Linked DNA regions of Homo sapiens: regions 1, 2 and 4 are each linked to region 3. Evidence: promoter capture Hi-C in 16 types of primary human blood cells and fetal thymus (Javierre and others, 2016). All regions are on one chromosome and are shown on one strand. The core of a region is centred on a gene start or on the middle of the fragment in contact, and the rest is flanking DNA. Distances in the headings are between cores, read along the strand shown. Region 1 holds the start of SPEM1 (spermatid maturation 1). Region 2 holds the start of TMEM256 (transmembrane protein 256). Region 3 holds the start of EIF4A1 (eukaryotic translation initiation factor 4A1). Region 4 holds the start of DNAH2 (dynein axonemal heavy chain 2).

Region 1 (7,548 bases), core at 4,533-7,032, 150 kb after region 3:
GCCATTGTCAGGGGTGGGGATGGGGGTCCCCTACCTCTCCAGCAGCCACACTTACTTTTCTGAGTAGCCCAATCAATCATCTTGTCTAAGGCGTTCTGGAGTCCATGCCACATCTGGGGCAGGGTGGAAGAGAGTGAAGGCCAGGCCCTCCGCGCCCAGCACCACCACCCCTGCCCCCGCCCCAATCTAGACCGCACCTGCAGGTGGAGATGTAGGCTGCAGCTGGCTCCCACCCTTGGCCCTGTTCACCCCCAGAGGTAGTCCACAATCATCACTGACCATAGTTGCCACGTTGATGCCAATGTTGACAAGAACGATGAGGCCCAGCAGCAGGAGTAAGATGTCCTCGGCATCGTGGGGGCTTTCTTGGTATTGATTGCAACATCTCACGGTGTTATGCCATAGCTGGTTTTCCATGGAGGGGGGGTCCTAGGGCCACCTGGGCCACCCCCCTCTGCCCCCCACCCCCGGCCCCAACCCACACTGCACTCATGCCAATCCCCGGAGATAACTACAAGCTGGTAAGGGAGCCAGGTCACAATGAGGTGAGCTAGCGAGAGTCACAATGTGGAGGTGGCAGCTTTTATCCATTCTGCTGGCCCCTTCTACCGCCATCTCCACCCTTGGCTCCTACTTGGTGGAGCCTGGTCCCCACATATCCCAGATCTCAGTCTGTTCCTCTATCTCCACGAGGTTTGCTTAACCCCACAGCTGGTTCCTGAGCTGAAGATAGGGTAGTTAGAGGCTGACACGGTCGTCACAGGGTTGAAGCATGCATCAGATATGTCCTGTTTCATTGTTCTTTTGAGACATTATGGCAACTTACATAGCCTGTTGGCGTGCCTTGCCCCATGGTTACTTTGGGGCCAGCATCTAGGGTGACTAGATGGGCGGGTGACACTGCGTCCCCTCAGGCATCACCCTGCTGTACCAGCCCCTCCCTACTCTGCCCATTTCCCTGTCAAAAGTCCTCTAGCTCCCATCTCTGCCCAATTCTTCCTGGCCAGACTCCAGCCCTAGGTGTTGGTGGTCCTTGAGCCCACCAGCCACTTCGTCACACTGACATCTGACTCACTGAGGTGGCTGCCTCTGCTGGGAACCAACCCCAGCCATGGTTTCTCCAACCTAACCACCTACACTCCCACCAACCCACCCTTACTCCAAGGTGAAAAACGGTTAAGCTACTACCTGAAGAAAACCCGAGCTGGGCGCGGTGGCTCATGCCTATAATCCCAGCACTTTGGGAGGCTGAGGTGGCTGGATCACCTGAGGTCAGGAGTTCCAACCTGGCCAACATAGTGAAACCCCGTCTGTATTAAAAATACAAAAATTAGCTGGGTGTGGTGATGCGCGCCTGTAGTCCCAGCTACTCGGGAGGCTGAGGCAGAAGAATCATTTGAACCCAGGAGGTGGAGGTTGCAGCAAGCTGAGCTCTCGCCATTGTACTCCAGCTTGGGTGACACATCGAGAATCTGTCTCCAAAAAAACAAGAAAGGAAGGAAGGAAGGAAGGAAGGAAGGAAGGAAGGAAGGAAGGAAGGAAGGAAGGAAGGAAGGAAACTTGCTGGGCGCAGTGGCTCACGCCTATAATCCCAGGCAGGTGGACCACCTGAGGTCAGGAGTTTGAGACCAGCCTGGCCAACATGGCGAAACCTCTACTAAAAACACAAAAATTAGCTGGGCATGTTGGTGGGCGCCTGTAATCCCAGCTACTTGGGAGGCTGAGGCAGGAGAATTGCTTGAACCTGAGAGGTGGAGGTTGCAGCGAGCCAAGATCGCGCCACAGAAGTCCGGCCTGGGTGACAGAGTGAGACTGTCTCAAAACAAACAAACAACCCAACAACAACAACAACAACAACAAGAAAACCACATGAAATTAACAAAGCACAAAATACATGTAATTGTTAATATACCAAAAAGAGTGTTTGACTTAAAACAGGTGCATCACTGGGGTCTGTGGTGCCCTGGAGACTGCAAGCCATTTGTTTACACAGTGAACCACTCAGCAGAAAGAAAGGCCAGTGATCATATCCCATCCAGCCTCCAAACACAGAGTAGATGCAGAGTAGATTCAGATTCCACTGAATGGAATCCATTGAAAATGATCAGTAACGTTAGTTGAATGAGAGAAGTAGGGCCATTTGTAAACGGTCCGTCTGCTCACATTCCAGGAATCTGTCTAGAGTGGAAGGTGAAGTCCAGCTCCCTCAGCCTGGGCTCACGCACACAGCTGCTTGTTCTCAAGTGGTATGTGTGTGCATGTGCATATGATCCCAATTGTGTAGCAGAAAGGCAGGGCCTGAGTTTCTCTGTTTCTCAGTTTCTGAGTTCACATGGTGAACTGGGGAAGGTGGGAGGTTCTGGTGGGTCAGGCTGGCTCTGCAGCAATGGGATGGAGCATCTGAGGCCATGAGCTTGATCCTCAGTGTCTGTGTAACCATGAGCAAGACCCTTAGCTTCTCTGAACTTAGTCTCCTCACTGGTGACATGGTGAGTTAATCAAAGGAGTGAGGTCACAGAGAGCTGTGATGTTACAGTGAGGTACCTCTTGAGGGGGGCCCCAATATTTCTCTTCTTTTTTTTTTTTTTTGAGATGGAGTCTCGCTCTGTTGCCCAGGCTGGAGTGTAGTGGTGCAATCTCGGCTCACTGCAAGCTCCGCCTCCTGGGTTCACACCATTCTCCTGCCTCAGCCTCCCAAGTAGCTGGGACTATAGGCGCCCACCACCACGCCCGGCTAATTTTTTGTTTTCATATTTTTAGTAGAGATGGGGTTTCACCATGTTAGCCAGGATGGTCTCAATCTCCTGACCTTGTGATCTGCCCGCCTCGGCCTCCCAAAATGCTGGGATTACAGATGTGAGCCACCACGCCCGGCCTTTTTTTTTTTTTTTGATGGAGTCTCGCTCTGTCGCCCAGGCTGGGGTGCAGGGGCGCCATCTTGGCTAACTGCAACCTCTGCCTCCCACGTTCACACCATTCTCCTGCCTCAGCCTCCCAAGTAGCTGGGACTACAGGCGCCCACCATCATGCCCAGCTAATTTTTTTATTTTTTATTTTTCATTTTTTAGTAGAGACGGGGTGTCACTGTGTTAGCCAAGAGGTCTCGACCTCCTGACCTCGTGATCCGCCCGCCTCGGCTTCCCAAAGTGCTGGGATTACAGGCGTTAGCCACTGCGCCCAGCCAAGGGGGCCCCAATATTTCCTCCTCTGCTCCAATCCTGCTTAAGGGTATAGGACCTTCAGGGTGACTGGGGAACTGTGAAGGACTAGACGCCCTCTCAGCCATCCCTCCCCAAATAAATCAGGGCTTACGTGGGAACCAGGCCTCACCGGTGGCTGCAGCCTAACGCTGGGCTCTGGCAGGCACCAGCCTTCTGAGGAGCTAGGGCCATGGAGATGGAGATCTCTCCTCTAGTGCACGACTGCCTGGGGACCTGGGGTAGAATTTAGGGGCTTCTCTGTGCACTAAAGAAAACAAGGAATTAACTGGGCGTGGTGGTGCCTGTTGTCCCAGCTACTCAGGAGGCTGAGGCAGGAAGACTGCTTGAGCTCAGGAGGTTGAGTCTCCAGTGAGCCATGATTGCACCACTGCCCTCCAGCCTGAGTGACAGATCAAGACCCTGCCTCAGGGGAGGGGGAGGAAACAGTCCGGGCACAGTGGCTCACACCTGTAATCCCAGAACTTTCAGAGGTTGAGGCAGGCAGATCGATTGAGCCCAGGAGTTTGAGACCAGCCTAGGCAAAGTAGTGAAACCCAATCTCTACAAAAAATAGTGGTGCGGCTGGGGTGGGGTGGCTCACACCTGTTATCCCAGCACTTTGGGAGGCTGAGGCGGGCGGATCACCTGAGGTCAGGAGTTCAAGACCAGCCTGGCCGACATGGCAAAACCCCATCTGCACTAAAAATACAAAAATTAGCAGGGCATGGTGGCACACGCCTGTAGTCCCAGCTACTCAGGAGGCTGAAGGCAGGAGAATTGGTTGAACCTGGGAGGCAGAGGTTGCAGTGAGCCAAGATTGTGCCATTGCAGTCCAGTGTGGGTGACAAGAATAGGACTCTGTCTTAAAAACAAAAACAACCCCCCCCACACAAAAACCAACCAACCGAACAAACAACAACAACAACAACAAACTAGTGGCCCATGCCTGTAGTCCTAGTGACTCAGGAGGCTGAGGTGGGAGACAGTTGGGACTGCAGTGAACTGTGATTGCACCACTGCACTCCAGCCCGGGCAACAGAGAAGACCCTGTCTCAAAAAAAAAAAAAAATTGAAAACAAGGTAGAGGCAGGTAAGAGCCTTGGAACCCAGAAGGGCCTAGGAAAGGCTGAGGACAGGGACAGGCCTGTGGGGCAAAAGGTTAATGAGGGTCCTCAGGGCTCAGGGCCCTGTGGCTAGGGAGAGCATTCTCTTCACAGCCACAGCTTCTAGGTGCTGTGTGGGCCCTGGCACCCCAGCACCACCACAGATCACCTCCTCTCTCCTTTTTATTTTTTTCCAGTCACCTCCCAGTTAGGGAACGGTACACCCAATTCTTGCTTGTCTCCTCGGCAGTGCTGGATCCAGAGGCTAGGGGGTAGCAGCCGGACAGGGCCTCCACCTCCCGGGTCAGTTCCCGAAGCCGCCGTCTCATGTCCCGGGCATCATACACTATTCGGCCTGAGGAGCGGTGCCGGGAAAATTCAGGGATGACTGCTGGGCCCAGGGTGGGAGCTGGGACAGGCTGGTACTGAGCCGCCTCTGCCTCTGGCACCGCCCCCTCCCCACCGTTCTTGTGGCTAGGAGCCTCAGGGCTGGGAGGTGGGGGGTTCACAGGATACACATAGGCCCTTAGGCCCAGCTCGGACCATATGCCTGTTTTGAGGGGCCTTTCCTCTACGGTAGGCTGGAAGCGGATGGTCTGGGGAGGGGACTCTGGGGCATCCTGAGACCAGGGAACCCAGGTCCCCTGAGTGTGTTGGAAGCCTTCCCAGTCCTCAGGGACATCCCAGTGGTAGGAGCAGATGGCTGGGTACTGATGAGGCTTCTCGTCATCAGTGTCAGGAGCCCAAGCTACTGGGCAGTGAGCACAGCGTGTGGGAGAGCCTCGACGGCGATGGCGGTGAGCTGGGGGCGGGGACACAGTCATCATCACAGGGTCCATGGTGCACCGAAGATGGACTGCAGGAGAACTCTGCTTCTTAGGGGGCTGGGTCTGCTTTCTGAGTAATGATGACTTGGGAGCTTCTGTGGATGGGGGAGAGGTGAGACTAGTGGGGAGGCCAGCTCCTACAGGCATGGAGAGGCAGGGCCCAGGAAGGGCAGCCACACAGCTATGTTGTCTGAGAGGGGCGAGCAAGAAGGGAAGGGGCTAATTTAGGGCTGAGGCTAGAGCACTTGGTTTCTGCCCCTCCTATGTCCCAGCCCCCAGACCTCTTACCTTTCTCACAAATGGTATCATGGAACACTTGGTATAAGACACCACGGAATCGGCTCCAGAGCTAGGTGGGGGAAGACACAGTGATCCCAGGTAGGCCCTGGCCGGCAGGCCTGCCCCCCACTATCCCACCAGCTCCCTCCCATCTGGCCCCACCCTGACCAGGGTCACTATATTGATGCTAATGTTAATGCAGATGATGAGGCCCAGCAGCAACAGGACAGAGTTGCCCAGGTCCTGGCAGCTGTTGCTGTTGCAGTTGTGATACGAGGCCCACTCGGGCCTCGGCCGCTCAACCATGGCCATGGGGTCCCTAGGACCACCGGGGCCCTTACGCCCCCAGCCCACCGTGCCGACAGTGTCCACTGACTGCCTGCCTGTCCCTGAGGGTCTTGGGAGTGAACGGGTCACAATGGTGCCAGGCCACTCCCTTCCAGTGTGCCAAGGGGCTACCCTGAGTCCTGGACCCGTGGCTGACCCTCTCGCCTGAGTCCAGGCCTTGGCAGAGGCCATGCCTCTCACCTCACATACCTCTGCTGAGCTAGCTGCCTACACCAGCCCACTGGGCCTCTGGCCTGTTTGACATCTGCCCCCATCAGCCTTTGTCCTTCCATTATAGAACGACACCAGGCTCCAGTCTCGGCATAGACACGGGTCCTGACATTCATTTGCCAAACAGACCCATTACCATGGCAACCAGACCCCAGCACACACTCCCCCTTCCTCTCAGACCTCAGAGCTGGTCACTGAAAAGACCCCTCCTCCCTCGTCACTTCCCCAGGGCTTGTTTCTTTAGAGACCGCCCTCCCCACAACAGAGCAGGCACAACCAACAGTTAAACTTTTATATTTACAATATTCTCTTCATCTTTTGCCAGGTTTAAAAATGTGTACAGAGCCGCAAAGGGTTGGGGTAGGGATAAGGGATTGTCGGGATTGTTTTGGGGAGAGGAGCTGGGCATTGGAGTCCGTGGCTGAATCATGGGGTCCCCCAGCCCCCCTCCCATGCCCCAATTCTGAGGGCATCTGTCTACAGGGTTCAGGGCCCAGGTCTCTAGCATTTGGAGGGCATGGCTGTTTGGAGAGGAGCTAGACCAGGCAGGGGAAAGGATCAGAAAATAACTAATTTTCCATGGATGGAGGTAGGAAGAGAAGGGACAGTCAAGAGGCAAAGTTCTGGGGACTCAAGACCAGGGATTCTGGATTTGGGTGTCAGTGGAAGACAGCACCCCAGCCCCTATTCAAGTTTGGCACTAACACCCCACAAAATGCCAGCAGATGAGGACTCTCCCCTCGTCCACTGTGTCCCTTAAGCCCTTCCAGACATCATTCTTTTCCCAAATGCCCAAGCCCAAGGCCCTCCGGGGAGTCACCTCACACATTTCAAATTATTCCTGCTGGTGTCTGCCCAAGCCCTGTCCCCACTGCCCCCTCCATCTGTTCCCCAGCACCGCTGACCTCATTCTCCCAACCTGTCCGGTGAGACCTTTCTCCCCACTGCCTCCCTCCACCATTCAAGGCTCCTTTCTTTCAGACAAGGAGGGGGCGTGGGTCAGAGGAGGGTGGTCAGCTGAGGAGAAGGCTGGTCTGACACTGAGATGGGGACAGCTTCAAAGAGGGGGACGGAGATGAAGGGGAACGGAGAACTGAGGCAGGGTGGGGGAGACATGGTGAGGAGAAGGGGCACAGGCGGGAGCCCCCTCACCTGCCACATCCCTCGCCCTGTATCCTGCTTGCCCTTAGTTTCCCCTGCCCTGCCTGGGACTGGGAAATTCTTGGCACATTTTGGGAGTCTTTCCGCTCAAATCCACCTACCCAGTTTGGCACGGATGAGCAATGCTCTGAGGCCTGGGGAAAAGGCTGTCCTCGGACCACAATGAGGGCTTTGGTCAAACATGCGTGGCCTCTGCGGGGGGCACGTTGCCACACCCCCTCCCCCCAACTCGGGAGCAAGGGCCGGGCCTCCCTCGGGGTTTGTTCACCCTCCTCAGCTCCTGCCAACTAGAAGTCTGTGCTCACCTGCCATGTGAGGAGGAACTGGGTGCTGGGCCTGAGGCCTGGGGGAGGCAGGGAAGTGCTGGGAAGAGAGGGGCCGTCTGCCTGGGGAAACACACATCCACATGCAAGAACCTGT
Region 2 (7,372 bases), core at 280-2,779, 170 kb after region 3:
CGGCTTAGGTCCTACCTGGCTCAGCCCTGGGGCCGTGGTGCCTCCATCCAGGGCTCCGAGTGGGGGGCGAAAGGCCTTCGGGAGGGGGCGGCGGCCTCTGAGCCCCCGCGGCCCCGCAGGCCCAGCCCCCGCCCGCAGCGCCTCACCCGGCGGGGGAGGGGGATCGCCCCAGCCCCGGGGGGCGGGGCCGGGATCCAGTCGATCCCCGGGAAAAGGAGAGCTAGGGGATGGGATCAGGGGGAGCCCGAGAACAGGGAACCCCGCAGTAGGGACGATAGAGAAAGGAGGGGGCAACGGGACAGGACTAGATTGAGGATCCGCTGGTTCCGTGGGCCGGCTTCGAGGGACCAGAAGGCGGTCCAGGCGGAGGATCCTAAGGATCGGGTGCTGGAGGAGGAGTCCACGTTAATCCCCAGGGGCCCGGGGCCCGGGAGCGCAGGATCCGCGGTGCAGGGGCAGGGATCCAGCCGGAATCCTCGGGGAGGGGGAGGGATCTAGTCGATCCCGAGGGCGGGCGTGAGGGGGAGGTCCGGGGAGTCAGAGGAGGGCGGGAGCCGAGTCCAGAGCCCCGGGGCGGGGGTCAGCGCGGATCCTAGGAGGGAAGGCGGGGGTGAGGGGAGGCTTCGAGGGACGCTCAGCAGCCGGGAGGCCCGGACTCCTGGCTCCGCGCGCCAGGGCCGGCCCGCCCCGCGTCCATCCCAGCCCGAGAGTGATGATCCGCCGGCGGAGCAGCCGCAGCAGCCCCGCGCGTCACCGCGCGGCCGCCTCCCCCGCCCCCTGCCGAGAGAGCGGCGCACACCCCCCGCTCGCACCCCCCGCTCGCACCCGCCTGCCCGCCCGCCCTCCGGAGAATGGGGGGATTGGAGATGGTGGGAAGAGGCGGGAGCGGACAGACGGACAGATGGACGTAGCGGGCCAGGGCAGGGTGGAGACATTCCCCCGGATCTCCCACCCTCGGGGCTCTCGCGGTCTCGGAGGGCTGGCGGGGGGGAGAATATCTTAACTACAGGGGGCGGGGCATCATACAAAGAAGGCGGAGCCTTCAGACATGGGGGAGGGGCCATTTGTGCAGTGGGCGGGGTTTACTGGCAATAGGTGGGGCTTTGCTATCTTTCGGGCCGCCTCTTTTTGGTAGTGGGTTTGATTTGAAGCTGAACAGGAGGAGCCTGTGGAAAAAGGGGCGGAACTTTGAGAGAAGACCGGGATCTTTGGAAATTGGCCGGAGCATGGGGGTGGGGGGTTCGAAGAGGCGATCAACTTGGAAAGTGGGCCAATCCTTGACGCAAATCCCCCTAGTCCCGCCCTCAACCCCGCCCCCCCACTGCTTAGCTCCTCTGTTCCTAATTGGTGCTGGTTTCTCCGCCCGCCAGACGTCTTCGCCACTCTGCAGCGGTTTTACAAAGGCGGGTGAAGAGCGCAATGCTGAAATGAACACGGCCCGGATTGGGCGCCTGTGAACCTTATTTGCATGGGCGGTCGGGATTGGCTGGCCTCTTGGGTGGCCTGGGCGGCGTTGGTCCGGTGCGTCCTGTTCTACAGCTATGGCCGGGCCAGCTGCAGCTTTCCGCCGCTTGGGCGCCTTGTCCGGAGCTGCGGCCTTAGGCTTCGCTTCCTACGGGGCGCACGGTCAGGGGGCTGGGGACGAAGATGGGACTGTACTTGGGGCGTCCTCTGGGGTCTGCTGCAAGGGCGTAACCTATGGGAGGTGCCCGGCCTCTCGTTTATCAGACAGTCCGCGGAGCCCTAAACCTTTTAAAGTCCCCCAGCTGGGTCCAATTGGTTCCCAGTACTGCCCGAGCGTGTTCCCACCAATCGGAAGCTTCCTGGGGCGGGGGGGGGGGTGCCCTTTCTCGCCAATGTCCACCTGGGTCCCCCCGGATTGGGGGCGGTCAGGGCTGGCACTAGGACCGCTAACCTTTGCTTCTTTTCTCCACAGGCGCCCAATTCCCAGATGCCTACGGGAAGGAGGTGAAGTAACTGCGCTGGGGCTCCCTGACTCGTGGGTCTACGAAGGCACAAAGTCTGGGGTCCCTGGGGGAAGTGGGCGGGGAGAGGGTGGGGCGAGCCGCGGATCTCTGGAGCAGCAAAGGCCAAAGGCTCTGTAAGCCAAAGGCCTGGGATCAAGCTGGGACTTCAAGGGTGGGGTGGGGGAAGGAACTTTGGTCCCTTGTGTCATCAGGGGATCTCAGTACCTGTATTGCCTACGACATCCCTTCGTTTCTGTTTTTCTTACAGCTGTTTGACAAGGCCAACAAACACCACTTCTTACACAGCCTGGCCCTGTTAGGGGTGCCCCATTGCAGAAAGCCACTCTGGGTAATCTTTCCCTGCGCCTAACCCTGACCAAGCCCCACACACTCCCTCTCAGCCTGCCCTGTTCTTAACAATCCTGTTTTCTGTGCTGTGTCTCCTTCAGGCTGGGTTATTGCTAGCTTCCGGAACGACCTTATTCTGCACCAGCTTTTACTACCAGGCTCTGAGTGGAGACCCCAGCATCCAGACTTTGGCCCCTGCGGGAGGGACCCTGCTACTCTTGGGCTGGCTTGCCTTGGCTCTTTGAGCTCCCTTTTGCTTAATTACTGGGTTTTCTGGGCAGTTTTTTTTTTAAAGAGTTGGAGTAAGAAGAGGATTAAAAAGGAAAGGCAAATAAACTTTGGAGTCTTTGTTCATCTAACCTCTTGGAGGACGAAGGGTGGGGATTCAACCTCTGAACTCCCTCCATTTCCTAAGACTTAATCAGTGAGCCTTAGGTCTGGGGATTCTGGTCACTTTAAGTTAACTTATTATAATGTTCTTACCCTGGTGGGCATCAAAGTCATAAAGAATGCTTGAAATAACACAGATTCCTACTGAAGCACTCTTTCGGGCCTGAGAATCTGTATTTTAATAAGCTCATCTTGTGGTTCTGATGCATACTAGGTTTTTAATTTTATTATTATTATTATTATTATTTTGAGATGGAGTCTTGCTCTGTCGCCCAGGCTGGAATACAGTGGCGCGACCTCGGCTCACTGCAACCTCTGCCTCCCAGGTTCAAGCGATTCTCCTGCCTCGGCCTCCTGAATAGCTGGGATTACAGGCGCCTGCCACCATGCCCAACTAATTTTTTGTATTTTTAGTAGACACGGGGTTGTGCCATGTTGGCAAGGCTGGTTTTGAACTCCCGACCTCAGGTGATCCGCCTGCCTTGGCCTCCCAAAGTGCTGTGATTACAGGTATGAGCCACCACGCCCGGCCTGTTTTTATTTTTATTTTTATTTTTTTGAGACAGAGTTTCACTCTGTTGCCCAGGCTGGAGTGCAGTGGTGCGATTTTGGTTCACTGCAACCTCCACCTCCTGAGTTCAAGTGATTCTCCTGCCTCAGCCTCCCAAGTAGCTGAGATTATAGGTGCATGCCACCATGCCTGGCTAATTTTTGTATTTTTAGTAGAGATGGGGTTTCACCATATTGGCGAAGCTGGTCTTGAACTCCTGACCTCAAGCAATTCACCCGCCTCAGCCTCCCAAAGTACTGGGATTTTAAAAAATTACTATAGGGTCATGGTTTTCAGCCCTGTTGTTATCAGCACCCACTTACTCTAGAAGTGAGGATTAAGGCAAGGCAGGATAGGAGTGTCATTAGTTACAAAATACTTTGGGGTTCAAAGCAGGGACAGATCATGTATTGGGGATCAGAAAATGTGTCACAATGCTTGAGATGATCCTTAAAGGAGCTCTATTGTATGGAAGAAACAATGAACAAAGAACAAGATGGAGAGGGGAGGGGTTTGGAGAAGCAGGAGTCTTCAATGTGGGCTGAGTTTGAGTTAGGTAGGAAAGGAGTGAGAAAAGGTGGCAGGACAGGCTGGAGTGGCAGTCACAGCATGTAGAGAACTGGAAGATATTTAGTGGGGACAGTATTTATTTATTGTGACGCAGTCTTGCCCTGTTACCCAGGCAGGAGTGCAGTGGCACGATCTCAGCTCACTGCAACCTCCGCCTCCCGGGTTCAAGTGATTCTCCTGCCTCAGCCTCCCGAGTAGCTGGGATTACAGGCGCCCGCAACCGCGCCCGGCTAATTTTTGTATTTTTAGTAGAGACGGGGTTTTGCCATGTTGGCCAGGCTGGTCTCAAACTCCCGACCTCAAGTGATCCACCTGCCTCAGCCTTCCAAAGTGCTGGCATTACAGGTGTGAGCCACTGCTCCTGGCAGGCACAGTATTTATTAAACCAGTGTTGATCATGCGTCAGACACGTTACAAGGAAGATCAACCCTGAGGGAGACAGATATCCCCTCCCTCAAGGAGTTTCCCATCTAGTAGTGGAAATGGACCTGAAATAACTAAACATTTATAAAATTTGCAAAACATGTATCATTACAAATTGTGCTGCATGCTGAAAGGAAAGGAACAGAGAGGACCCTGTGCGATGGCTCAAGCCTGTGATCCCAACATTTTGGAAGGCGGACGTGGGAACATTGCTCGAGCCCAGGAGTTCGAGACCAGCCTGGATAACACAGGGAGACCCCTGTCTTTACAAAAATAAAAAAATAGCGAGGCGTGGTGGCTCACGCCTGTAATCCTAGCACTTTGGGAGGCCGAGGTGGGCGGATCACAAGGTCAGGAGATCGACACTATCCTGGCTAACACGGTGAAACCCCGTCTCTCCTGAAAATACAAAAAAAAATTAGCTGGGCGTGGTGCCGGGCGCCTGTAGTCCCAGCTACTCGGGAGGCTGAGGCAGGAGAATGGCATGAGGCTGAGGCAGGAGAATGGCATGAACCCAGGAGGCGGAGCTTGCAGTGAGCCGAGATAGTGCCACTGCACTCCAGCCTGGGCGACAGAGCGAGACTCCGTCTCAAAAAATAAATAAATGAATAAATAAAAATAAAAATAAAAATAAATAGCCATGGCCAGGTGCGGTGGCTCATGCCTGTAATCCCAGCACTTTGGGAGGCTGAGGCGGGTGGATCACGAGGTCAGGAGATCGAGACCATCCTGGCTAACACAGTGAAACCCCTGTCTCTACTAAAAATACAAAAAAATTAGCCGGGCATGGTGGTGGGAACCTGTGGTCCCAGCTACTCGGGAGGCTGAGGCAGGAGAATGGCGTGAACCCGGGAGGCGGAGCTTGCAGTGAGCCGCGATGGCGCCACTGCACTCCAGCCTGGGCGACAGAGCCAGACTCCGTCTCAAAAAAAAAAAAAAAAAAAAATAGCCAGGTGTAGTGGCTTGTGCCTGTAGCCTGCAGGCCCAGCTACTCGGGAGGCTGAGTTTGGAGGAACACATGTCTGGTTCCTGACTCATCTTTTTTTTTTTTTTTTTTTTTTTTGAGTCAGAGTTTCGCTGGTTGCCCAGGCTGGAGTGCAATGGTGCGATCTCGGCTCACTACAATGTCCGCCTCCTGGGTTCGAGCAATTTTCCTGAATCAGCCTCCCAAGTAGCTGGAATTACAGGCATGCGCCACCATGCCCGGCAAATTTTGTATTTTTAGTAGAGACAGGGTTTCTTCATGCTGGTCAGGCTAATCTCAAACTCGCGACCTCAGGTGATCCGCCCGCCTCGGCCTCCCAAAGTGCTGGGATTACAGACATGAGCCACTGTGCCTGGCCTCTGACTCATCTTTAAAATGAAGAAATATTGTGATCTACGAGTGTACCTCAAATTATGCCATCTCCCTGGATATACATGCTTCATTGGCTCCCCTTTGCCCTCAGAAGACAGTACAACATCTCCGCACAAGGCCCTCCACCATTTGGCCCTGTCATCCTTCTCACAATCCTCAGGCCAGCCCCTAGGAATTCCTTCAGGTCTCTAACACACTCTCTTGCTTCAGGGAAGCCTGGAAAGCTGCTGTTACAGGAGTCGGGAGCTCAGTAGAGACTAGTGTTGGTGATAGAAATTCTGCAATTAAAAGCATGCAGATTGTAACTAGAGATACGGAATGAGATGAAATTACCTAAAATCTTCTCATTAGAGAAAAAATCTGCACACTTTTAAAAATGCATACCGGCAGGGCACAGTGGCTCACACCTGTAATCCCAGCACTTTGGGAGGCTGAGGCATGCAAATCAAGAGGTCAGGAGTTTGAGACCAGGCTGGGCAACATGGTGAAACCCTGTCTCTACTAAAAATTTAAAAAATTAGCTGGGCGTAGTGGTGGGTGCCTGTAATCCCAGCTACTCGGGAGGCTGAGGCAGGAGAATCGCTTGAACCCAGGAGGCGGAGGTTGCAGTGAGCCAAGATCATGTCATTGCACCACTCCAGCCCAGGCGACAGAGTAAGACTCTGTCTCAAAAAAAAAAAAAAAAAAAAAAAAAAAAAGCATACCTTCAGGCCAGTCGCAGCAGCTCACGCCTGTAGTCCCAGCACCTGTAATCCTGGGAGGCTGAGGCAGGTGGATAACATGAGTCCAGGAGTTCGAGACGAGCCTGGCCAACATGGTGAAATGCCGTCTCTACTAAAAATACACAAATTAGCTGGCGTGGTGGTGCATGGTGCTTGTAATCCCAACTACTTGGGTGTCTGAGGCACGAGGATCGCTTGAACCCAGGAGGCGGAGGTTGCAGTGAGCCAAGATCGTGTCACTGCTCTCCAGCCTGGGCAACAGAGCAAGACCTGTCTCAAAAAAGAAAAAAATGCATACCTTCAGAAAAATTAAGTATGCCTTCAATATATTATACAGATTGTACTATATAAAGCATACACAAAAATAGAAATTAAAAATGATGATAGCTGGGTGCGGTGGTGTGTGCCTATAGTCTCACCTACTCAGGAGGCTGAGGCAGAAGGATTGCTTGAGGTTAGGAGTTTGAGACTAGTGTGCTAAGATCAAGCCTGTGAATAGCCACTATACTCCAGCCTGGGCAACACAGCAAGACCCCATCTCAAAAAAAAAAAAAAGAGTGACTTAAACTTTTCAATGACTTACTTACTACTGCACTGCAAATAGATTCCAAGTGCCATACCACTGTCTCCAAGGCCTGCACTGGCCATCCGGGCTTTGTGATTCTTTGTCACTACATGGCATCCACATTGCCAACCCACCACATTTTCTTCTGCCTCAAGATTTTGAGCTGCTCTTTTCAGCCTGTTTTGCAGTTATTCTTTGTGCCTAGAATACACTTCTACACTTTGTGCAAGCTTAGTTTAGCTTCAATAGGATCACCTTGGTGAGGCCTTCCACATCTGAAGGGGCACACCCTCCACCCTCCAGCTGTTCCACCGCCTCTCTGTGCTTTTTCGTTTTGTTTGAGACAGGGTCTCGCTTTGTCACCCAGCTGTAATGCAGTGGTGCCATAAGGACTCGCTGCAGTCTCCATCTCCCAGGGTCAAGCAATTCTCTCACCTCGGCCTCCCGAGTAGCTGGGACTACAGGTGTAAGCTACCACGA
Region 3 (7,573 bases), core at 1,553-4,052:
TGAAACAGCTCTGGCTATTAAGCAAGGGTGAAAAGGACTGTCCATCTGCTCTGACTACTGTAAGATCACCCCCACACCAAGGGATCTCTTAGCCCATAGTGAAGGTGCTTATTCAGAACACAGTCAAACTTGCCCAGCCAGCCAGGCTTCACCCAACAGCTTTCCCATTTGACTCAGGAAATGGGTGGAGGAAGCAATGGTTACGTTTGGGTAAGAAATAGCTTTTAATTAACCCAGCAGGTCTCGAGAGTGTTAGGGCACCCATGTCTTCCTCCCAAGGTGGTGATCAGAGAAGACTTCTCTGGTCCTTGGATTATACTCATCATCCCTAAATCAGCCCTGAAGGAGGGAATAGAAGCCACTCTTACCTGCTGAGCCAATTCTCGAGTGGGTGCTAGGACCAAGGCCTGGGTGGCTTTTAGATCTAATTCAATCTGCTGCAGAATCGATATGGCAAATGTGGCCGTTTTCCCAGTCCCAGATTGGGCTTGAGCAATCACATCATAACCTAAACAAATAAATTAGGAGTTGAATGTGGTAAAGAGCATACCCTTTGGGATATTCAAGTCCTAGGTTAATGAGGTCAATAAGCAACCAATGAACCAAGCATTTCATGGCTCACAAACTACCTTCCCAATCAACACAGTTACACAATGGGAACCAGATCAGAAACAAGGACCAGTTATTAACTCATCTAGTATTGCACACCAAGCTGGACTAGAAACATGGCTGTAGATGCAAATATAAGCTGGCTACAATACCACCTCTTTAAAGGAAACCTATGTGTCCAAGGCATGAACCAGGCATGGGCACGGATCAAAAGCCAAGCTGGGATGAACAAGGAGTTGCTTTGTCCCTGGCTGATATGAGATGGGCATCACCAACCAGATGCCACTCTACCCAGGTCAGGGACAGTCCACAATGTCTTCTGGGACTGAGAGGTCTCACCCTTGATACAAGGTAGAATGGCTCGCTGCTGGATGGCAGAGGGCTTCTCAAAACCATACGCGTAGATGCCACGGAGAAGGGACTCCGAGAGGTTCATGTCATCAAAGCTGTCAACAATCTCATTCCAGTTACTCTAGGGGATGCAAAGAAATTAAAGCTTGAGTCATGGAAAAGGTGGAGCTGAGCTGTAGTCTCCGAGCAAACAGAATCTGGTGCCTACTAACAAAAGCCTCAGAGCTTACAACCCTCCTCCCTTTAGGGAAACCAGCTGCTTCTAGATGATCTGGGAAATCAATCAAGAGGCCACTCTAACTCTATACGGCTGAAAGTTGTAATGGGGGAGGACAGAATTCCATTTCTCCAGTCTCACCTCGATGACGCCTTCGGGCTCCATCCCATCGGGGCCATTGTCTCTGGATCTGTTGGTTTAAAGCATAAGTTTTGTCCCCTGCCCGACCGAAGCACTCAGAAATCCTGACAGCCGGGCTCTGTCAGGAGTGGCCTGCATGATGCCATCAATCTGCTGTCCCAGATCCAACTCCCACCAGCTCCCAAAAAATACCCAAAGGAGGAGTTTCTATAAAACTGAGGCATTTGCCCCATGCAGGCAGCGGCTCAGGCCAGGCCACCCCCGACATAAGGGGGTGACCCTTTCTGAAGACAGGCCGGCAGGCGTGCCGCCGCGCTCACGGTGCCCAGAGGTGGTGCTTGCCGCCGGGTCCACGTGGGCCCGACCCAGCCGCTTAAAGCCCAAGCGCGTGCACCTCCCACCGCAGCACCAGCGCGCTGGAAGTCCCGCCCTTCACCTCCCAGATCGGAGGGTAGGACATCCCCTTCCCCCCACGTCATCCCGCCCGCGCCCTCCCCCACTCCCTCCAGCCGAAGCCCCCCCCTCGCGTTGCCCGGATGTGGGAGGCCGCGGGCGGTGGCGGCCTCGCGCACAATGAGCCCAAGCCGAGCTAGCAAAGGGGGAGATTGCACAACACTTAGAAGCGAAGCAGACTGGGGGAGGGGAACGCCTCAGGCCACCATGTGCTCGCTCCCTCGACCACCCGGCGGCGTCTCCCACCCCTCCATGAACAATCCACATCCCGCCCGCCCCCGTCGCGAAGTAGCGTCGCCCTCCCATACCTCAGGCCGCTCACCCCCGAAGGAAGGTGGACCTGCCCATCCGCAGTTTGCCAATAGCCCGGCTTGTGCGGCAAAATGGACCCGCCCGCCCGGCGCCGGGTGGGCTCCTGGTGCCTCACGCGGCCGCTCCTCGGGGTTAGGCTCAGTCCTGGCCGTCAAGAAAACCAGCACACTGAACGGCCGGTTTCTTCTCCCCGACCCGTGTTTTAGCCGCGACGAAGTGACTGGATCTAAGGACCAGGCACCCCCGCCTCTCGCGAGTGGTACCGTCAGAATGCTCCGGAACCCCGCGCGCCGTCCCTCCCCCGGCACAGGGAGGCAACCGGACCTGCCGGCTCTGGGCCACACATAGTGGCGGCCGCCTCCACCTTTCTTTCCCACGCCAGGTCGCGACCCCGTCTCGCCACTCAGCGCCGGGGCTTCGCGCATGGCACCGCCTCGGGTCGAGGCCTCGTAACAGACCTCGCACGCCTGACCCTAGCCGGGCTGTCCCTACCCTCCGCCTCGACCTGGTGGCCGCGTCGGCCGTGGGTCTTCCCCCTCGCCCCTCCAAGTCGGACCCTCCCCCCACCCGGTTCGGTTTCTCCCGCAACCCTGGTGGGCCTCTCAGCTACCCCCGGCGGGCCCGTCGGAAGGGGGCGGCAAAATAAGCAGCCACAATCTCTTGCAAATGCCTTTCTTACCGGGAATCCTGGCTCGCAGACATGATCCTTAGAAACTAGGGCGGAGTGCCCGCCTATCGACAACTTATAGAGCGCCCGACTCCGCCCCGGCCATCGCATTGGTTTGGCCGCCCCGGCCCCGCCTGCCGGCGCTCAGCAACTCGGCATGACGTTAGTTCCTAGTCGCTCCGGCCCGCAGGCACCATTGGATAACTCGAGTGCCTATCAAGGTGAAGGCCCGCCCCGCAGCCTCATTGGCTGGAGGGCCCGCCTTTCTCGCCGGTACGGAAGTGACATAGAAGAGTCAGGCCTCGAGGCCTGGCAGCCATCTTGGGGCCCTGCACTCTCACACGTGCGGAGGCGACAGTGCCTTGGTCATGTGGCTCCGTAGGCCCTATCACGCAAGGGGGGCGAGGTCTCAGCCTCCAGAGGCTTCCGGGCTCTGGGGGTTATCACTTCCCTTTACTTCTGCTCCCGGTCTCCACTGGACTCAAATGTTATTTGTTTTCCCCTGTAGCAGAGATGGATTCGACACTGCCTGGACGTGTGCCAGGGATGAAGGAATCAACAGCGATATCGTAGGGATGGGAGGATTCCCCTGGCTGGATGGTGGAGGGATGGAAGAAAACTGTAAAGGGCTTTGGGGTACTATCATGAATCCTGGTTGGTCCCCTCCCCAGTCCCTTGTGTCCAGTTCCCCAGCTTCCCTCTCGGATGCCCTTATTCTTGAGGCTTATCTACTTTCCCTCCTTCCTGCTCTCTGCTCCCATCTCGGGGATTTGTTTGGGTGAAGACAAGGTGTTGGCAGTGCCTGAGCCAGGGATGGAAAGCTGAACCCTTTAGTCTCAAGAGACTGGCTGGAAGGTCTGAGCTAAGCATATCCACTAATTTGAAGCCCCTTAAGGAAGACCACCACTTACGTATCAACAAAGGATCCTTTATTGACCAGAGCAGGACCGTGGCATTTATATATTTTTATATATATATATATATATATATATATATATATATATATATATATATATATATATATATATATATATATATAAAAGTTTGAAGATCTGGCAGGCAGTGATCCTATTGTCCGCCCACCACCCCCAGCACTGATTTCCTGCTCCCTGCACGGGGAAGGGGGAGGATGACTGCTCCACCCAGGCCACAGGGCCACACTCCCCTGCAAACAGAGGAAGAAAGGGGCTTTTCTGTAGCCACCCCCTGCACATCAGAAATCAACAAGTATTCTCTCAAAGAAAAAAAAATACAGAAATTGAAACATTTAAATATGAAAAACCAAAGGGAAGTGAGTGGGAAGAGGCAAGAGAGGAAAGGAACTGGAGTTTCTTGGGAAGGGACTCCCATGTCTCCCTTCCCATTTATGGGCTTGGGGTCTGGGGTACGAGGCTCACACAGTGAGTTTGCAGTGACACAGCTCCTTGTAGATCTGCCGACGAAGTTTGGGCATGTCCTGCTGGGTGAAGCTGAATGGCTGAGACAGGGCCAGATGCTTGCAGTACTGGGTGTTAACAAAGCAAGCCATGAGAAACCCCCCGTGTCAGGACCTGTGCTACACATTTCATATGAGATGTGTCTCCATCCTTCAGAGAACATCCCCAAAGGGAGCCAGGGTCCCACAGCCTGGGGTTCAAAAACAGCCTGACTCTAAAGCTAGTGTTCTTACTTGATAGAATGTTTTAGATGGAGAAAATACACTGAGTTGGAGGTTAGCAGGGAGCTCTATGAAGGCCAGAGGCCCAAGACTAGAGACCCAGTCCCAATGTGGGATGGAGAAGTCCAGAAGAGAACCAGTGAAGCCAGTGTTTTGGTGTTCTAAAACAGATTACTTCCTGCTCCACAACTGACTATGAGCCAAATGAGGGGATGCATAACAGCCTCCCGACCCTTTAACCCAACTGACTTCAGAGCTAGGGGAGGTGGCCCCATCATCTGCTTACCTGCAACACAAAAGCACCACAGTCACTGTCATTATTCTGCCTGGCCACATTCTAGAGAAGAGAAAGAAAGCAGGCCCTTCACATGGAGACTCCCAGGGGTAGGACTTCAATTTCTGCCTTCTACCACTGTCCCCACCAACACCCTATACCCCTCCCTCAGGAAACTCACCATTTTGAAGTAACCTTTCCAGCCCTGGTGGAAATCCAGTCGGTCTTTCTTTACCGCCTCTGCCTGTAGATACTTGGCAATATGCTATGTGGATGGGGGAAAAGAAAGTGATGCCCTAAGTTTCTCAATTGAACACAGTATGGTGGGTACAGTGCTGGCAGACACCATGCCCAGGTCGCCCCTCAAAGACCCAAAGCCCACCCTTCTTCCTGCAATGCCTTGCCACTGCACCGCCCCACATTTTGCCCATCTCTCTCCTACCCCCTCAAACCTTAGGGCAGCGGCGGTTTAGGGTACGCTGCGAGTCAAAATAGGTGATGGTGCGTCGCCTCACATCAACAGAGATGAGGGACCAATGCACCTCCAGGTGGATGGGGATTAGCAGTAGCTCCTTATTGAAGATGTCCACCTAAAGAGATAGTGCCACAGGTCAGGTACAACAAACAGAAGTCTTGCCTTTTGCCATGAAGGTTCTAGAGAGGAACAGAGACACAGGTAAGGGAACCAAGTGAAAGAACAGAAGACCCAAGGCCTAGATTGTGGGCAAGCTCAGGATCTGCATGTTTCGGTTCTTCGGGGTAAGGGAGGAAGGTCAGACAATGGAGGAGACATCAGAACGAACACTGGAGAACCCATGATGGGCAGGCGCTTTTCACACTTTAAAGGGAGAAGCACTTAGCAGCTAAGAACCCAGGCCCAGGATTCTGGAGCCTGCCAGAATTCAAATACAGCTCCTCCATTTACTGGCTTATGACAGTGGGCAACCTACTTAATAACCTTCTATACCTCAGTTTCCTTATCTGTCAGAGAGTGTAAATAGTAGTACCTACACCTCATCCATTTGATATGAGGATTAAACTAGTGACTATCCATAATACACTTAGAACAAGACACAGCACAAAGTAAACACGCAGTTAATGCTCATAACAATCCTACCGGGAAGTTCTCAACATTCAACCTAACAGATGAGGAAATTGCAGCTTGGAAAGTCGTGACTTGCACAAGGTCATGAAAGAAAGAAATGGCAGAAGTGGGACTCAAACTCAGTATGAAGAAGGCCAACATGTTTTTCACTGTACGTCACCACCCTTCCCTCTACTGCAAGAAGATCCCTGAGGGTGTAAGCTCTTGATTTTGAGGACTGAAATTAAGGAATGCCGGAGCCAATCATCCTGCCTAGCTGTAGAAATTTCCTGGCCTTTGAATGGGAGGGCAGGGAAACCAGAAGAGAAAAGAACTCTTCATTTTCCTCCCCCAACCTGTTCCTCTCCCACTTTTCCCGTTACATAGGCCAAAAACCTAGGCATCATCCTCCATTTCTTTTTCTTCATTTCCCACATCCAACCTGCGGAGGAAAAAACAAATCTTTTTTTTTTTTTTGAGACGGAGTCTTGCTCTGTTGCCCAGACTGGAGTGCAGTGGCGTGATCTTGCCTCACTGCAAGCTCCACCTCCTGGGTTCATGCCATTCTCCTGCCTCAGCCTCCCAAGTAGCTTGGACTACAGACACGTGCCACCTCGCCCGGCTAATTTTTTGTATTTTTAGTAGAGACAGGGTTTCACTGTGTTAGCCAGGATGGTCTTGATCTCCTGACCTGGTGATCCGCCCGCCTCAGCCTCCCAAAGGGCTGGGATTACAGGCGTGAGCCACCGCGCCCGGCAAAAAAACAAATCTTCTTTCCTACTATACTCTCACAACACAAAATACTTCTGTAACCTGTGGTCACCAAGAAGTGTTTGTGGGGCTTTCTCTCCACCAACAACCAAGCAAGCAATTTTGCGGTGGACACAGCTGGGTATCCCCCAATTCAATTCCAACACTATCTACCTGGAGATAATGTGTCACAGGTTTAGGGCTCAGTCTCACAAGGCTGCCCCCAATTCTGATGCCAGTCCTAAGCCCCAGGTTGTTTTATCTGTGTTTCTCACCAACTGGTTAGATCAGCGTTCCCATGACCCCCTCCTTGAATTTGATTAATTTGCTAGAGCAGCTCACAGAACTCATGGAAACACATTTACCAGTTTATTAACAAAGGGTAGTACAAAGAGTACAGATGAAAAGATGCACAGGGAAAGGTACCGGGAAGAGGCCTGGAGACCATCCTGTGGGAGCCTCCATGCCTTCAGCTATCTAGAATGTCTCCAAACTCCTCCTCTCGGGTTTTTTTTTCTTTTTTGAGACAGAGTTTCACTCTGTCACCCAGGGTGGAGTGCAGTGGCACAATCTCGGCTCACTGCAACCTCTGCCTCCCGGGTTCAAGCGATTCTCCTGCCTCAGCCTCCCGGGGACTACAGGCGCACGCCACCACGCCCAGCTAATTTTCATATTTTTAGTAGAGACAGGGTTTCGCCAGGTCGGCCAGGCTGGTCTCAATCTCTTGACCTTGCGATCCATCTGCCTCAGCCTCCCAAAGTGCCGGGAGTACAGGCGTGAGCCGCCGCACCCGGCCCCTTTCCGGTTTTTAGAGGCTTCACTACTAGGCATGACTGATTAAATCACTGATCCTCAGTGATTGCCTTAACCTTTGGCCCCATTCCCCTCCCAGGAAGTTGGTGGGGGTGAGGCTGAAAGTTCCAACCCTCTAATCATGAAGCCACCTAGAGGGGCTAGCCATGAATCAACTCATCAGCACACAAAAACACACATCACTGGAGATTCCAAGGATTTTAGAAGTTGAATGCCAGGAGCCTGGTCAGGAGACCAAATATGTA
Region 4 (7,287 bases), core at 4,258-6,757, 140 kb before region 3:
CACCTGTAATCCCAGCACTTTGGGAGGCCAAGGCGGGCGGATCATGAGGTCAGGAGATCAAGACCATCCTGACTAATACGGTGAAACCCCGTCTCTACTAAAAAATACAAAAAATTAGCCAGATGTGCTGGTGGGAGCCTGTAGTCCCAGCTACTCTGGAGGCTGAGGCAGGAGAATGGCGTGAACCTGGGAGGCGGAGCTTGTAGTGAGCCGAGATTGCGCCACTGCACTCCAGCCTGGGCAACAGAGCGAAGACTCTGTCTCAAAAAAAAAAAAAAAAAAAAAAGGAAAGAAAAGAAAAGAAAGAAAAGAAAGAAAGCTAAACACAGCCACCCAATGACCCAGCAATTCCACTTCTAGGTAGAGACCTTGAAAGCAAGGACTCAAAGAGAGATTTGCATTACAGCATTCGTAGCAGCATTATTCACAATAGGCAAAAGGTGGCAACAGCTCAGTGTCTTCTAACAGAGGAATGGATAAACAAAAGGTGATATAAACATGCAGTGGGCTATTATTCAGCCATCAGAAGGCATGGCGGTGTGGTTCATGCTACAACATGGATGATCCTCGAAAACACAGTGCCAAGTGAAAAAAGCCAGTCATGAGAGACCACTCGATGAAATGTCCAGCATAGGCAAATCCATAAAGACAGAAAATAGATGAGCGGTTCCTGGGATCTGCGGGGGAAGGGGGAATCAGGAGTGACTGCTAAAAGACGAGGCTCTGATGCAACTTACAAGTAAAGATATAGGAGTCACCTGGTGCCAATTTCTCAAGGTGCTTAAAGTGGCTTTCTTTTGGCGGGATAAAAATGTTCTAAAATTAGATAGTGGGAACGTTGCACAGCTTTGTGAATATACCAAAAACCACTGAACTGTAGACTTTAAAAAGGTAAATTTTAGAGTCAGTGAATTCTCTGTCAATTTAATGTAAAAAGCTGACTGGGGGCCGGGCACGATGGCTCATACCTGTAATCCCAGCACTTTGGGAGGCTGAGGCTGGTGGATCGCCCGAAGTCAGGCGTTCGAGACCAGCCTGGCCAAGATGGTGAACCCCCCCCCCCGTCTCTATAAAAATACAAAAAATTAGCCAGGCATGGTGGCGGGTGCCTGTAATTCCAGCTACTCGGGAGGCTGAGGCAGGAGGATTGCTTGAATCCGGGAGGCAGAGGTCGCAGTGAGCCGAGATCACGCCATTGCACTCCAGCCTGGGTGACAGGGCAAGATTCTGTCTCCAAAAAATAAAAATAAAACAAACACTAACTGGGGTAGGGGTGAGGGAATGAAGGCGGTTAGTACTGAGGTTATTCCAGGCATACAGCTTCTGGCCCTCCATCTTCCCCCACTCCTCTTCCCACATGGAGAAGTTGGGGCTCATAGGAATCAGCCCTTCTCCAAACCACTGGCCTGCTGAGCATTCAGTTCTGCCACACCCACTCTGACTCCCATAAAACCCAGCGGCTCTGTTTCTCTGCCTCCTGATCTACTAGTCACACAGGAGATTGGAGTAAAACTGGTGGCTTTCCCATTCCCCAGGGGCTGAAAGGAGGAAGGAACAAATGAGATATAACCAAAAGACCATGAGGAACAGGAAACTCCCTCTGGCTTCCAGAAAGGAAAACTAAGAGGGGAATGAGGCACAGAGGCCGAGGCAGGAAGGCGTGAAAAGATGGAACAGGCGATTCCGGAGCTTAGTAGTAGGTGAGTAGGTGAGATGATCCAACTCCCTTGGGAAAACTGCTGGCATTCAGGTTCCAGGCAAGAACTAGGCCAGGGGAGACTGGGTGCGGTGGCTCACGCCTGTAATCCCAGCACTTTGGGAGGCCGAGGCAGGTGGATCACTCGAGGACAGGAGTTCGAGACCAGCCTGGGCAACATGGTGAAACCCCATCTCTACTAAAAATACAAAAATTAGCCGGGTGTGGTGGCACACGCCTGTAATCCCAGCTACTCAGGAGGCTGAGGCAGGAGAATCGCTTGAACCCAGGAGGTGGAGGTTGCAGTGAACTGAGATCGCACCACTGCACTCTAGCCTTGGCAACTGAGAGAGACTCTGTCTCAAAAAAATAAAAAAAATAAGCTGGGCATGGTGGTGTATGCCTGTAATCCCAGCTACTTGGGAGGCTGAGGCACAAGAATCACTTGAGCCCGGGAGGCAGAGGTTGCAGTGAGCTGAGATTATGCCAATGCACTCCAGGCTGGGAGACAGAGTGAGAATTTGTCTCAAAAAAAAAAAAAAAAAAAAAAGAAAGAAAGAAAAGAAAGCTTGGAGCTGGGAGAGGCAGAAATCCTTGCTGTTCGAAGGCCAACACATTCATTTTAAAGCTCCTTCCCTTACCTCCCCAGAGGATTCTCCATACTGAACCTCACTGTCTTCCCTCCCATCTTCCCCTACTCCTCCTAGCAGCGAGCAATCCCATTTTAACTGCTTTCACCTGAGCACTTCAGAACTCAGAAGGATACATTCTGCACATTTCTAAGATCCTGGAACCTAATGCAAGTTCTTATGGCCCAGGGACTTTTCTCCCATGCCCACGCTTAACCTCTCAACCTTTAATTTTAGAAGGGGATTCTATTTCACAAGCTACTATCAGTGTAAAGGAGCTCCAGGTAAAGAAGGAGGTCTACACTTAGCTCATAGTCCTGTCTACACTGACCAGTGCTCTCAGGGAGATCCCAGCAATAGCAACAACTACCAAAAACCTTCCAACCTTACTGGCTCCGGCTCACCCACAGGAAAGGAATCCCTCAGGTCAAAGCCACAAGAGGCTGCCTCGTTAAACTCTTTCCTCCCTAGATCTAGACTTCTTTCCTGTCATCCTGAACCTGAACCTCCGCAGTCTACCAAGTCCCTGCCAAAATGAGGGCGGAGATAGAACAGCCCTCAACAGATGGTAGAAAGCATCAGCCGGGCTTTGGATTCAAAGGGTGGCAAAACAGGCTGAGTCTCCATGGTGATGGGCTTAATGGGAGAAAAACATTATTTGTTTTGCCACCCAGGGTGAAAATGGGAAAAAGGAAGAGATCAAACCCTCTTCAGTGGGGTAGGAGCAACCAGGAACACTTGAAATAAGGAGGAAGAGGCTAGAGAAAGGACTGGTTGGTGAACTCCTGGTATATTGTGGGAAATTTTAAGACAGAAAGAACAAGGATGAGGCTGGCCAGGAGGAAGACATACAAAAAAAGGACTCAGTGGCAGGGCTGCTGAACCTCCATGGCTGGGGGCGTCACTTAGCCCGTTTCCTGCCCAGAAGCAACAGCGCCTGCTCCCCAGCCCTAAAATGCCTCCAAGCCCCTCTGACTTTCCCCACCCTCCATTGCTAAGCATCCTCTGCCCCAGCAAGTACCCACCAGGCTCCTCCTTGGGGAGCTCAGCCTGCAGCTCTGGCTCACTGACAGCCGGGGCATTCCCCTGCTCCTGTGTGGCCACAGCAGCCCGAGTGGCCCGCCCTGACCAGCTTGCCTGGGAGCTTCCTCGGCCACTCAATCGCTGCTTCTTCTCAGCTTTGCTGGACATCGTGCAGGCAAAACCTACAGGTATACAGGAGTGGAGAGTCTACAAGCAGATACCACCCCTGAACCAGCCCCCTGATACAAGCAGTCCCTTTTGAATTCATAAATTGACTGAAACTCAATATGATCATCTTTTCTGGTGGTACCCACACCCTGCTCCATTAACCACAAGGGCTCTGTACTCCACAGGGGCCTGGGAGGCCTTGCTGTTTTTCCCTAGGATATCCTACTGTCTTCGGGGCACTGGGCTAAAAATCAAAGTCAGTCCCTCAAGGCACTAGGAACAAATGGGAGTTAAAGATGATGGCCAGGCTGGGTGCGGTGGCTCATGCTTGTAATCCCAGCATTTTGGGAGGCCGAGCCGGGTGGATCACCTGAGGTCAGGAGTTCGAGACCAGCCTGGCCAACATGGCAAAACCCCGTCTCTACTAAAAATACAAAAAATTAGCCAGGAGTGGTGGTGCGTGCCTGTAATTCCAGCTACTCGGGAGGCTGAGGCAGGAGAATCTCTTGAACCCGAGAGGTAGAGGCTGCAGTGAGCCAAGATCATGCTACTATACTCCAGCCTGGCTGACAGAGTGAGACTCTATCTCAAAAAAAAAAAAAAAAAAGATGGCCAGACACCCCACTAATGAGGATTTAGAACCTCTATCTCTGCCCCGGGGTATGAGAACATAAGATAATCAGGAAAAGATCTATCAAGCTGAAGTGTGGTTGCCCAAACCCTCATCCACTCTACCCTCCAGGACCATGAGTGAGTGAGAGAGGATCAAGGAAGGGGTGCACATCCCCCATCCTTTGTCACTGTTCAATCATTCAAGCAAACCAAGATGATTTTCCTATGTACCTCTTTTCCTCCCAAGTTAAATGGAAATATGCTCCTCCCAATCCCACTAAAATCTGCAACATCTGTAAACAGAGAAAAACAGTATTTGCCACCTGGGTCTATCGCTTTGAAGTCCTGAGGGGCAGGAACACTGTTTTGTGTGTACTGAGGTCTCTTAGCAGAGTTGGCTGAGGAACTCTGTGCTAATGGTTAAGATCAGTCAGGATCATTTATTTGACTCAAAATGCCCTGAGAACAGATTGGAAGAAAGAAGGACAAAAGTCATCCAATCATAAATTTCAAATTGTGTCATGAGGAAAAAGCAATTGGGGCACGAGGAAGGTCACAGTGGTGCCTCTCTCAGAAAGGTAGGATGGCAGGAAGCGGGGATCTCGGACAGGTGCTCAGAATCCCAGGCGCAAAGTCTGAGGCGCTGGGCACTCTCTTTTCATTAGGCTGCAGCCTAACGGCACCTGTGGCTCTCCTTCCTCATCCCCACAGGCTGCCACAGGCATTGATCTCAGGTTATGAATTTCAAACTTGAAGGATTTGTACTTTGCTCCAAGGAAAAACGTTCTGTTAGGCCAGCAAATCAATAAAACCAACTACAGCAAGGAGGCTTCCTCCATCAGTCTCCAGAGAAGCATCAAGCTGCGCTTTCCTGCCTCAAACTAGAGCCTGAGGCGCATGCACCGTGGGGTTCACCACGCGATCCCACACCGCAGGCCCCAGGAGGAACTGCTCTGCTAAGTCGGGGCTCACTCTAGTACTAGGAAATACCGCAGGGGCCAGCAGTATTTATCCTGCAGTATAAATCCAGCAGTATTTATCCAGCAGTATTTATACCAGCAGCTGGTATCCTTAAACTGGTTACCAGCAGGCAAATTTCCCCTCAGAATGGCTCTTCCCCCCCAGCTGTCACAACTGCCCCTTCTCCTCCCCCTCCCCCACACAAATATTCCTTGCTCCCTCTCCCTCCACAACTGCCTCTTCTCCCCAACAACTGTCCCTTCCTACCCCGACACTACTGCCCCTTCTCCCCAGCACTCCTTCCCTCCTTCCCTCTGCCCCCGACACACACCTTGCCACGCTGACCCTCCCCTCCCTAGACCGACCGATGGGCCACTCTAAGAAGTTGCCCCTCGCAGCCCTCTCGGGCCGGCGTCTGCACGCGTCCCCATGGCAACCCCGGGCAGGGAGGGGCGAGTGGCCGGTGTGCGGCCCCTCGGAGCCCGCCTCCTCCGCGCAGGCGCCCTGGATCCCTGCTTCGCGGCCCCACCCCGCCCAGGTCTACCCCTCAGGGACCCAGGGCTTGAAGGCTCCGGGACTAAAGGAAAGTAGCCACATCTGGCGAGCCGAAGGGTGCGGGGGGCCTGGTGTCAGGACCCAGCTGGAAGGGCTGGGGCGAGAGACAGTGAGCCACCGCCCCGCAGGACATTGAAAAGGCAGGGAGAACCCAATCGCCCGACCCCGCGCCCAGGTCTGTGCGCCCCAGCCGGAACGGGTCCAGCAGATGGCGCCGGGCGCCAGGCCGGCGAGGGATATTCGCGATGTAGAAGGCGTTCCAGGATTTCCAGGCAGCCGTGGGTGCAGCTGGATCCGGGGGAAAAACCGGGCCTGGAGCACCCTTGCCCTCCTGCTCCTTCCCCCTTCTTAGTTCGGATTGGGGTCTAGGATTGCGGGGGGGCGGCGCGGGGCGGGGAAAGGGAGGGAAGACGGGAACTGGAGTTTTGGGAATCTGAGGATTGGCTTTCGAAGGCATCGCTGGTTTTTGGGGGGGATGAGAGGCGGGGACTCCCTGGGGAAGGTGACCGGGCCTGGGAGGGGCTTCGCTCTCCATAGGAACAAAGGCTGCGTCGTGAGAGAGGAGGCGAGAGGGGAGGGCTATGAGGGCCGGGGTACATCTCCGAGGGTGCCAGGGGGCGCTGCGGGCCGGGGCTGCTAGAAGGCGCCTGGAAGACCGCTGTACCTGGTGCCGGGAGGAGCTTTGGGGAGACCTGGGAAATACAGGGAGGAAGCCGAGTGGGGGGATGGGAAGGCGCCCTCCCTGTTTCCATCAATAGTGCCTAATTAAGACAAAGCCAGCAGCGAGCCCACTGATTACATTTCCATGAGGAGCGAAATTTATGACATTTTCTTTGCTGGATGAGGAGAAGAGAAGCTGGCACCTCAGTTCCCCCATTTTCTGTTTGGCGTTCACACCTAACAGATCTCATTATGCCAGCCTGGCACTACCAGGAGTGGCAGTCCCTGGTACTCCTGAAGAGCAAGTGGATTAACCACACCCTATCCCAGCGCTGACCTCACCCTCCCACCTACCGTATCTTTATTCCCAGAAGTGTCAACCCTTTCCCTCCCCCCGACCCCCAATAATTCCTCCTGCCCAGCCAGACTCCTGTTGCTGACAGCAGGAATGGAAGGAGAGGAGTACCGCCCACCCCAAAACCAGCTGCACAGCTAGCACAGCTAAGATGGAACGTGGAGGTGTTCCTCTAGCCAGATAGGCCATGGGTGGCAGACAGAGGTGATGTGGTTGGCCAGAACCCCTAGGGAAAAGTCCCAAAGGAGTGAAAATTTGCTGGAGGCGTGGGGTGGGGAGCCTCAGGGGCAAGGTTCATGGGTCCCTCGGGGAAAGGAACTTTGCACAGACCCCATTTCTTTTCTTAAACCCCCCTCCCCAACTGTGGCTGTGCCTACGGATCCCAGCCCCCCACATTATGCTAAATAGGTAATCAAACATCTCGCTTTGCTAATTACTGCTCAATCCGATTAAACGCTGCTGAAGCTCATCAACAGAGGTGGAGGTAGGGGGAAGGGACGAAGGCGGGGCAACCACAGCTAGCTATGATGGGGGTCTTTTCCCCAGGGGCTCTTCGGGGCTAGAGAAACAGCCAGGGTTGCAAGACCGTGTACATCCCAAAGGAAAGGGCAGAAGAGTTGTGACCTCGA

Evidence for each region. The method cuts DNA at HindIII sites, captures the fragments that hold promoters and counts their contacts. A CHiCAGO score of 5 or more calls a contact.
Region 1: a contact is called between the fragment with the promoter of SPEM1 here and the fragment with the promoter of EIF4A1 in region 3, in 8 of 17 cell types (naive CD8 T cells, fetal thymus, non-activated CD4 T cells and 5 more). The highest score is 7.5, in naive CD8 T cells.
Region 2: a contact is called between the fragment with the promoter of TMEM256 here and the fragment with the promoter of EIF4A1 in region 3, in 13 of 17 cell types (activated CD4 T cells, naive CD8 T cells, total CD4 T cells and 10 more). The highest score is 12.8, in activated CD4 T cells.
Region 4: the fragment with the promoter of DNAH2 here is called in contact with the fragment with the promoter of EIF4A1 in region 3 in 1 of 17 cell types (activated CD4 T cells); the score reaches 6.1 in activated CD4 T cells.

Annotation. Positions count from the first base shown.
Region 1 is chr17:7,418,558-7,426,105 of GRCh38, reverse strand. It overlaps SPEM1 (spermatid maturation 1), which reads right to left and starts at 5,782. Exons shown (of 3, transcript NM_199339.3): 1 at 5,578-5,782; 2 at 5,419-5,479; 3 at 4,474-5,225. The coding sequence starts at 5,721. The coding sequence ends at 4,501. NLGN2 (neuroligin 2) reads right to left here. Exons shown (of 7, transcript NM_020795.4): 7 at 6,246-7,548. It overlaps SPEM2 (SPEM family member 2), which reads right to left and starts at 490. Exons shown (of 3, transcript NM_175734.5): 1 at 280-490; 2 at 56-113. The coding sequence starts at 417. RefSeq lists an enhancer at 5,779-6,298. The HindIII fragment of the contact is 12,172 bases long and covers 1-7,548 here.
Region 2 is chr17:7,398,254-7,405,625 of GRCh38, reverse strand. TMEM256 (transmembrane protein 256) reads left to right here and starts at 1,529. Exons shown (of 4, transcript NM_152766.5): 1 at 1,529-1,626; 2 at 1,937-1,968; 3 at 2,236-2,316; 4 at 2,417-2,651. The coding sequence starts at 1,542. The coding sequence ends at 2,560. It overlaps TMEM256-PLSCR3 (TMEM256-PLSCR3 readthrough (NMD candidate)), which reads left to right and starts at 1,495. Exons shown (of 10, transcript NR_037719.1): 1 at 1,495-1,626; 2 at 1,937-1,968. It also overlaps a transcript of NLGN2 not described here. RefSeq lists a silencer at 721-1,050 and an enhancer at 1,541-1,720. The HindIII fragment of the contact is 6,317 bases long and covers 1-1,821 here.
Region 3 is chr17:7,568,054-7,575,626 of GRCh38, reverse strand. It overlaps EIF4A1 (eukaryotic translation initiation factor 4A1), which reads right to left and starts at 2,802. Exons shown (of 11, transcript NM_001416.4): 1 at 2,763-2,802; 2 at 1,319-1,367; 3 at 949-1,081; 4 at 369-508. The coding sequence starts at 2,785. It overlaps SENP3 (SUMO specific peptidase 3), which reads right to left. Exons shown (of 11, transcript NM_015670.6): 8 at 5,134-5,271; 9 at 4,863-4,946; 10 at 4,694-4,744; 11 at 3,658-4,254. The coding sequence ends at 4,144. It overlaps SENP3-EIF4A1 (SENP3-EIF4A1 readthrough (NMD candidate)), which reads right to left. Exons shown (of 22, transcript NR_037926.1): 8 at 5,134-5,271; 9 at 4,863-4,946; 10 at 4,694-4,744; 11 at 4,148-4,254; 12 at 2,763-3,343; 13 at 1,319-1,367; 14 at 949-1,081; 15 at 369-508. It overlaps SNORA48 (small nucleolar RNA, H/ACA box 48), which reads right to left and starts at 914; the gene lies at 780-914. RefSeq lists enhancers at 1,445-1,574, 1,037-1,792, 1,793-2,548, 3,055-3,124, 3,245-3,304 and 2 more and silencers at 1,715-1,854, 2,755-2,814, 2,825-2,884. The HindIII fragment of the contact is 10,998 bases long and covers 1,108-7,573 here.
Region 4 is chr17:7,715,964-7,723,250 of GRCh38, reverse strand. It overlaps DNAH2 (dynein axonemal heavy chain 2), which reads right to left and starts at 5,507. Exons shown (of 86, transcript NM_020877.5): 1 at 4,452-5,507; 2 at 3,351-3,530. The coding sequence starts at 3,516. The HindIII fragment of the contact is 13,987 bases long and covers 2,267-7,287 here.